Regions from separate parts of the Homo sapiens genome. Here region 2 is linked to region 1. The links are contacts of gene promoters, found by promoter capture Hi-C in blood cells and fetal thymus (Javierre and others, 2016). All regions are on one chromosome and are shown on one strand. The core of a region is centred on a gene start or on the middle of the fragment in contact, and the rest is flanking DNA. Distances in the headings are between cores, read along the strand shown.

Region 1 (3,380 bases), core at 576-3,075:
GACCCTGGGATGCAGATAATATGGTTCAGTGCAGGTCCAAAAACATCAGAACCAGGGAAGCTGATGATGTCACTCTCATTCCAAGGCCAGAGTCTTGAGAACCCTGGGGGTTAGGGGAGGGTAAGTCCTGGAGTCCAGACCATTTTGGGCTTTGTCCACGAAGATTAACAATTTGACTTTTAGTTTAAGTGGGTGTATTAGTCCGTTTTCATCCTGCTGATAAACACATACCCGAGACTGGGCAAAAGAAAGAGGTTTAATGGACTCACAGTTCCACCTGGCTGGGGAGGCCTCACAATAATGGCTGAAGGTGAAAGGTGCATCTCACATGGCAGCAGATAGAAGAAAAGAACTTGTGCAGGGCAACTTCCCTTTATAAAACCATCAAATCTAGTGAGACTCATTCGCTATCTGGAGAACAGCACAGAAAACACCTGCTCCCATGATTCAATCACCTCCCACCAGGTCCCTCCCACAACAGGTGGAAACTGTGGGAGCTACAATTCAAGATGAGTTTTGGGTGTGGACACAGTCAAATCCTATTAGTGGGAAAAGGTTTGTGAGATCTTGTTTTAATGTTTGCTTTGTTGTTTAATCTGATTGCAAGTGAGGGTTAAAAACATTTTCAACCTGTTGACCATTTGCATTGTTTGCTGAATTATCTGCTCCTGTCTCTCTGAGGTCTCCCTCAGACCTGCTGAGGTCTTAGCATCTTTCCTATTCATATGAAGTCTCTCTCAGCGAAGGATTTTAATCCTTTGTTGTGTTCAGTTTATTTTCCCTAGGTTATCTGCTTTTTAATTTTGGTTTTCCTTTTTAAGTAGAAGCTCTGAACTTTGTGCCTTAGTGTGTGAGGTTTTTGTTTTTGTTTTTTTTTGAGATGGAGTCTCCCTCTGTTGCCCAGGCTGGAGTGCAGTGGCACGATCTCGGCTCACTGCAACCTCCGCCTCCGGGTTCAAGCAATCCTCTGTCTCAGCCTCCTGAGTAGCTGGGATTACAGGCGCCCGCCACCATGCCCGGCTAACTTTTTTATTTTTTTTTATTTTTATTTTTTTAGTAGAGACGGGGTTTCACCATCTTGGCCAGGCTGGTCTCGAACTCCTGACCTCGTGATCCACCAGCCTCGGCCTCCCAAAGTGCTGGGATTACGGGCGTGAGCCACCGCGCCCGGCCAGTGTGTGAGAATTCTTCCACCACTTTTCATCTTAAGAAATCCTCGGCCACCTGACATTTGATAAACACGACTTAAGTTTTCTTGGTCCCTGTTGTCCGCATCCATGTTTTACACTCGTGGATTTCTGTTTTCTTCTCGGGGTGGGGCAATGCCTCCCCTGGTGCGGCCCTCAAAGGCCCAGGAGCGCAGATCCCGCCGCAGAAAGACCCCTCGCCCATCTGCGCCCAGCCCTTCCCCGCAGGAGGGCTCAGGGGACCCCACGCTACTGGAATCCACCCCGAGTCACAGCTACAGATCATTACCCACAAGTGGGGTCAAAGGCCTCTTTACGGGCGAGAAAGCTGCGGCTCAGCAGAAAGCCAAGCACTTTGGGAGGGAGGAGCTGAGGTGCCTTATTACTCCGAACAGACGCGAAAACAAGCCAGGGCCCGCGCGGGTAGACCTGGTAGGCGGGTGGGCGGGGCGAGGGCCACTTCCGGGGTGTGGAACCCTGTCGAGCCCCGCCCCGAGCCCCGCCCCGAGCCCCGCCCCGGGCCCTGTGGTCCCGGGATGAGCTCTCCGCGCAGCCAGGCTCGCTCCAGTGCCCGCCCAGCGCTGACTTCATTGGCTGCCTCCCCAGTCCCGCCCCCAGGGGGGCCCTGCTGATGTTCGTAGCCAATCCGCAGGCGCGGTGGCAGCTGCGGGTCGCGGGTCGCGGGTCGCGAGTCGCCGGTCGCCGGTCGCGGCGGAGCCTGGGCGCTGAGGTACCGGGGCCTGGACGAGGGGGCCGCGGTCTGGCTAGGGAGCCGCGCGGGCTCATGGCGGTACGGCGACCTGGCCTCGCTCGAGGGTTCGCGGGCGGGCCGCCCCTCCCCGGGCTCCTAGGGGGACGCTCCAGCTGGAGGGGCGGTGACCGCGACTGTCGTGGGCTGGCCCCAGGTGGCTAGGGTTGGGGGTCAGAGGTCAGAGGTTCTGCCCTCTGGAATGTTAGGGCCCCGCCCGTGGAGCCGTGGAGCCCTGGGGCCGGGCCGCTCCCCATTTTCCTGTCAGCTCTTGTTGAGGTGCCCCATCTTTTCGCAGAAGGGACTTGGAGGGAAGCGGGCCTGGAGCTGCTGCCGCCGCCCCTGAGCTCGGACGCGAAGGCTGGCCCCGTCCCCGGGCTGCCGCCGTGGTCCTGCAGGTGACCCTCAACCCCCCGAGGACCGCCGGCCGCCTCCCGCCTCCGGGCAGGCTCAGGAGCGCGCGGAGCGGGGTGTGGGCCTGTGACCCTCGAAGGCGTGGGCGGGGAGTAGGGGGTCGAGCTGGGGCCGCAGGCTGTCCCCGTACGGGCTGCTCCCCTGTGGCTCCGAAGCCACCTTTTTCTGAAGTTGTCAGCCCGCGTGTTTGAGATTTCGTTTCTGGAATCTCACGCGAACAATCTGGAGAGAGGAACAGGGGTCTTGCGGCTTTGGCTGTTGACTCAAGGGGAAAATAAAAACCAGACAATGGGGATGTAATGAATGCAAAGTGACCCGTGAGCAAACTGGACGCTTTTCTCCGGCTGACAGGCATGAGTTCTCCCCGTAGCTTGCCCCACATACTGTGAGTTAAACTGTGTCAAAGTAAGAGCAGTTTAGCCCCACAGTTCTGAGCAAGAGTCCTTAGCGCTGACCTTCTTAGTGAAGATACTTTGCAATGTGTAAAATATTGAATACAAAATTATTGTGCAAAGCTTCTGAGTTGAAGATTCTGAGTGCGCGGAGGCTGGCGGCAGCCCTTACTTGCCATTGCAAGGATCTCAACTTACTACTCTGAGAGCAAAAGTAGTTGTTTCTTTACAGATGTGGGTTTAGGGGAGACAGCTATGGATGAGGAACAGGGGCGGGGTTCGTTTTCTGCACAAAACGTATGCGATTAGAAAAAACAAAGGGTTTTTATTCTGCCTATCTTCTTCCATCTCAGCCAGCATAAGCACATTCTTTTTTTTCTGTTGATGATGTATGCTGAGTATTTGCAGCGATTAGGAAAAGGAATACTCTCTAACAAGACACTTCTCTTTAAACGAGGCGGTGGAGGGATGATTATGTCTTCTGTGGAATTAACCCTCCGGCTTGATTTTCAGTGAAGAAAATGAGGCACGAGGAATTGTTAACCAAGACCTTCCAAGGCCCAGCTGTTGTGTGTGGGACTCCGACCAGCCACGTATACATGTTTAAGAATGGCAGTGGGGACTCGGGGGACTCTTCTG
Region 2 (3,380 bases), core at 543-3,042, 620 kb before region 1:
CTGTTTAGCTTCTGGACACTGGGACTTCCATTTCCTCTCTGATGGTGTCAGCAACACAATGCAAGCACCACATTCATTGTTTCCTAGGGAAGCTAAACAGTTCCATTCCTGGACCTATACCATGGGTGGGTAGAGAGGCTGCACACAGGGACCAACTAGCCATCTGGCTGCTCTTGCAGATGTACTTACCCTGCTCAGCCTACAGGTTGCTTTTGGGTGCCCTAAATTTTTTATAGCCACTTCTTGCACACCTCCATTAGATGAATGCTTTCATATAAATCTTTAACATGCCTTAGAATTAATTTTAGTTTGTGTTATGACTCTGTAGTTGTTAGCTATTGCTGCATAACAAATTAGTCCAAAACTTAGTGACTCAAAACACTAATAATAATTTATTTTCTCTTGTTTTTTTAACGGTCTGGAATTCAGCCAGGGTGGACACAGTGGGAAGGGCTTGTCTCTACTCATGGTGTTTGGGGCAGACTCAAAGGCTGGGGGCTGAAATCATCGGAAGGCCTGACTGAGGGTAGAGGATCTGCTTCCAAAATGACTCACTCACATGACAAATTAGTTGGTTCTGGCAAGTTGGCCTCCTTTCCAAGAAGTGCCTCTCCACACATGTGCTTCTCTGCAGGGTTGCTTGAGTGTCCTCATGACATGGCTGGTGGTTCCCAAAAAAGCAAGTGATCCAAGAGCAACATTCAGGAATAAGTTCAATCCTTTCTATGACCTAGCCTCAGAACTCACAAAGCATCACTCTCAATACGCCCTATTCATCAGAAGCCAGGCAGTAATTCCAGCACACTTTCTAGGCAGAGGAATTAGGTACACCTGTTGAAGGGAAGCAGGTCATAATTAGAGGATATATTTTTGAACCACCACAGAATCTAACTTAGGTTCGTACAAATATATAAACAGCTGTCCAATACCACATATTGAATAGTCTATCATTACTATATCAGTCTGAGCCATGACTATTTGCATTTACTAAGAATGTGTGTTATTACCATTGAAGACCTTCCAGTGGGACAAGATGTGAAAGCAGAAGACAGTGGTATTGATGATCCTGACCCTGTATAGGCCTAGGCTAATGTGTGTTTGTGTCTTAATATTTGACAAAAAGTTTAAAATGTAAAAAATAAACAACTTCAAAAGTAGGAAAAAAGCTTATAGAATAAGGATATGAAGAATGAAAATATTTTTGTATAGCTGTACAATGTGTTTGTGTATTCAAGCTGTTATTAAAAGAGTCAAAAAATTTAAAAATTCTTAAGGTAGAAAAGTTACAGTAAGCTAAAGTGAATATATTATTGAAGGAAAGAAAATTTTTAAAAATAAATTGAGTGTGGGCCTAGTGTACAGGGTTTTAAAGTCTACAGTAGTGTACAGTAATGTCCTAGGCCTTCGTATTTACTCACCACTCACTTACTGACTCACCCAGAGCAACTTTCAGTCCCGTAAGCTCCAAGCTTACGGTAGGTGCCCTAGGCAGGTGCACCAGTTTCAATCTTTCATACCATATTTTTACTGTATCTTTTCTATGTTTAGATACACAAATACTTACCATTGTGTTACAGTTGCCTACAGTGTTCAGTACCACACTGTACAGGTTTGTAGTCTAGAAGCACAGCCTACAGCCTGGGTGTGTAGTAGGCTGTGCTGTTTAGGTTTGGGTAAGTACACTCTATATTGTTTGCACAATGATGCAATTGCCTGACGATGCATTTCTCAGAACGTCTGCTCACTGTTACGCAACGGAGGACTGTGAATTGGGAGTTTATTTTGTTTTTCAGTCTGTACTGGCAGCGAATCATACATAGCTTAGTTTATCAGACAAGCTGCTTTTCTTGAGCAAAGAAAGAACTAGGAGAGAAACGGGGCTTTGGAACCCTGATGCGGCAATGCTGAAAGAGGAGAAATATCCCAAGGAAGGGAAAGGTGTGTTGCAGAACGATGAAAAATAGGCGGCTTCTCACAGCTGTTCTCAGGGGACGAGACGGGGTGGGATGCAGCTCCGCCGGTGCCTAACACTAAGGGCCCTCATCCTGCCGATTCAGTTGTGTCGGGACCGCCAGTGCTGTCTCCTCGTCAGATGCTGCTTCTGGTCTCCCCGCAGAAGATGCCACTGGAGTTGCCTTTTCAAGGATGGGGACATTTGAAGGCCCTGGACGCTCAGCTCTGAGGCTGGCTGGGATCTCACTAGCACCCCCTGGTGGAGGCCGGAGCCAGGCTGACGCGGGAAAGTGGGGCACGGAAGCGCTGCGGATTGGACCGGCGGCAGCTAGGCCGAAACGCCTGTATTTAAAGGGATAGTAACTCGGACTCGTTCTGCAATATCCCCACAAGGGCCTGACTGAGCGAGCGAGCATGGACGGCCGCGGGGCTTTCTGGACAGTGGCCATTCCCAGAGCCAGGCAGGAAGGCCTCGGGAGGCTGGGGCTCCCGTTCCCGGTGAAGCGGACGCCGCCAGCGCCCCAGAACCCAGGAGGAAGCACACAGGCCCCACAGAGAGTGGTTGGCAAGAGTCACTCGGGGATTAGGATGCCGGCCAAATCGCGGAATTTGAGGCTGGAATCCAAGCTCAACAGGAAAGTAGTGAAATACAAATGGGGAAAACAGGGCTCTGGAGCGGGGAGGGAGCTGGTGCCGGCATTTCCCACCAACGCCGGTTTAGGAAGACGGGACCGATGCCGGCCGCCCCCTGCTGGAGGGGATGTGGCATCTCACGGGCTGCCAGGGAGCGGGGTTGGCTACTCCTGCAACCAGCGTGAAGAGGGTCTCAGGGGAGGCTGTGGTGGGATCCCCCACGTGCCCTTGTTCCTCTCACCGTTACCTCTGGATGCCTCGGGGCAAAGGCCTTCTTCCACCTATAGACAGAGTCTACGCAGGGGTCTTGGAACCCGGGCACACCAGTCCCCAGCTAACGAAATCCCCGAGTTGGGGGATTTGAGAGGGTCACGTTTGGCCCAAGAACCCGCAGTCCTCTTTGGTCTTCGGCCCTCTATTTCTAAGCGTGGGCTTCTGGCACGGCGGCTCTGGGCACAGCCCATGCTGCTTTCGGGCTGGGTGGTTTCAACGACGACAACAATTATCACAGTGACGGTGACCTTCACCCCAACAGGACTGCTGTGTGTGAAGCACTCAAGAGGGCCCCTACAACCAACCTGCCAGGAGTCGGCTCCTGAAAACAGGGTCGGAAAAGGTCAGTGCCCATCAGAATCGAGCTGTCGGCAAAAAGCTGGAGAGGTTAGGAGCTTTGTCTATCTCAAGGGTAACAAACTGCTTTGACCCTGAGGGCTCTGAAGACGACTTTCCCTCACCGCAGCTCTCAAGACAACAGGGATCAGACTCAGAAAGACACTGCCTGTATAAGGCTCTTG

The links. Contacts are between HindIII fragments. The CHiCAGO score rates a contact against its expected background, and 5 or more counts as called.
Region 2: the fragment with the promoter of SPATA41 here is called in contact with the fragment with the promoter of LYSMD4 in region 1 in 1 of 17 cell types (non-activated CD4 T cells); the score reaches 6.9 in non-activated CD4 T cells.

The regions. Positions count from the first base shown.
Region 1 is chr15:99,731,882-99,735,261 of GRCh38, reverse strand. LYSMD4 (LysM domain containing 4) reads left to right here and starts at 1,825. Exons shown (of 3, transcript NM_001284417.2): 1 at 1,825-1,917; 2 at 3,255-3,380. The coding sequence starts at 3,263. RefSeq lists silencers at 1,496-2,225, 2,266-2,375. The HindIII fragment of the contact is 4,446 bases long and covers 1-2,866 here.
Region 2 is chr15:100,349,130-100,352,509 of GRCh38, reverse strand. It overlaps SPATA41 (spermatogenesis associated 41), which reads left to right and starts at 1,792. Exons shown (of 2, transcript NR_028139.1): 1 at 1,792-3,380. LOC105371021 (a long non-coding RNA gene) reads right to left here and starts at 2,904. Exons shown (of 3, transcript XR_007064777.1): 1 at 2,828-2,904; 2 at 1,565-2,135; 3 at 366-831. RefSeq lists an enhancer at 2,365-2,624. The HindIII fragment of the contact is 2,620 bases long and covers 1,472-3,380 here.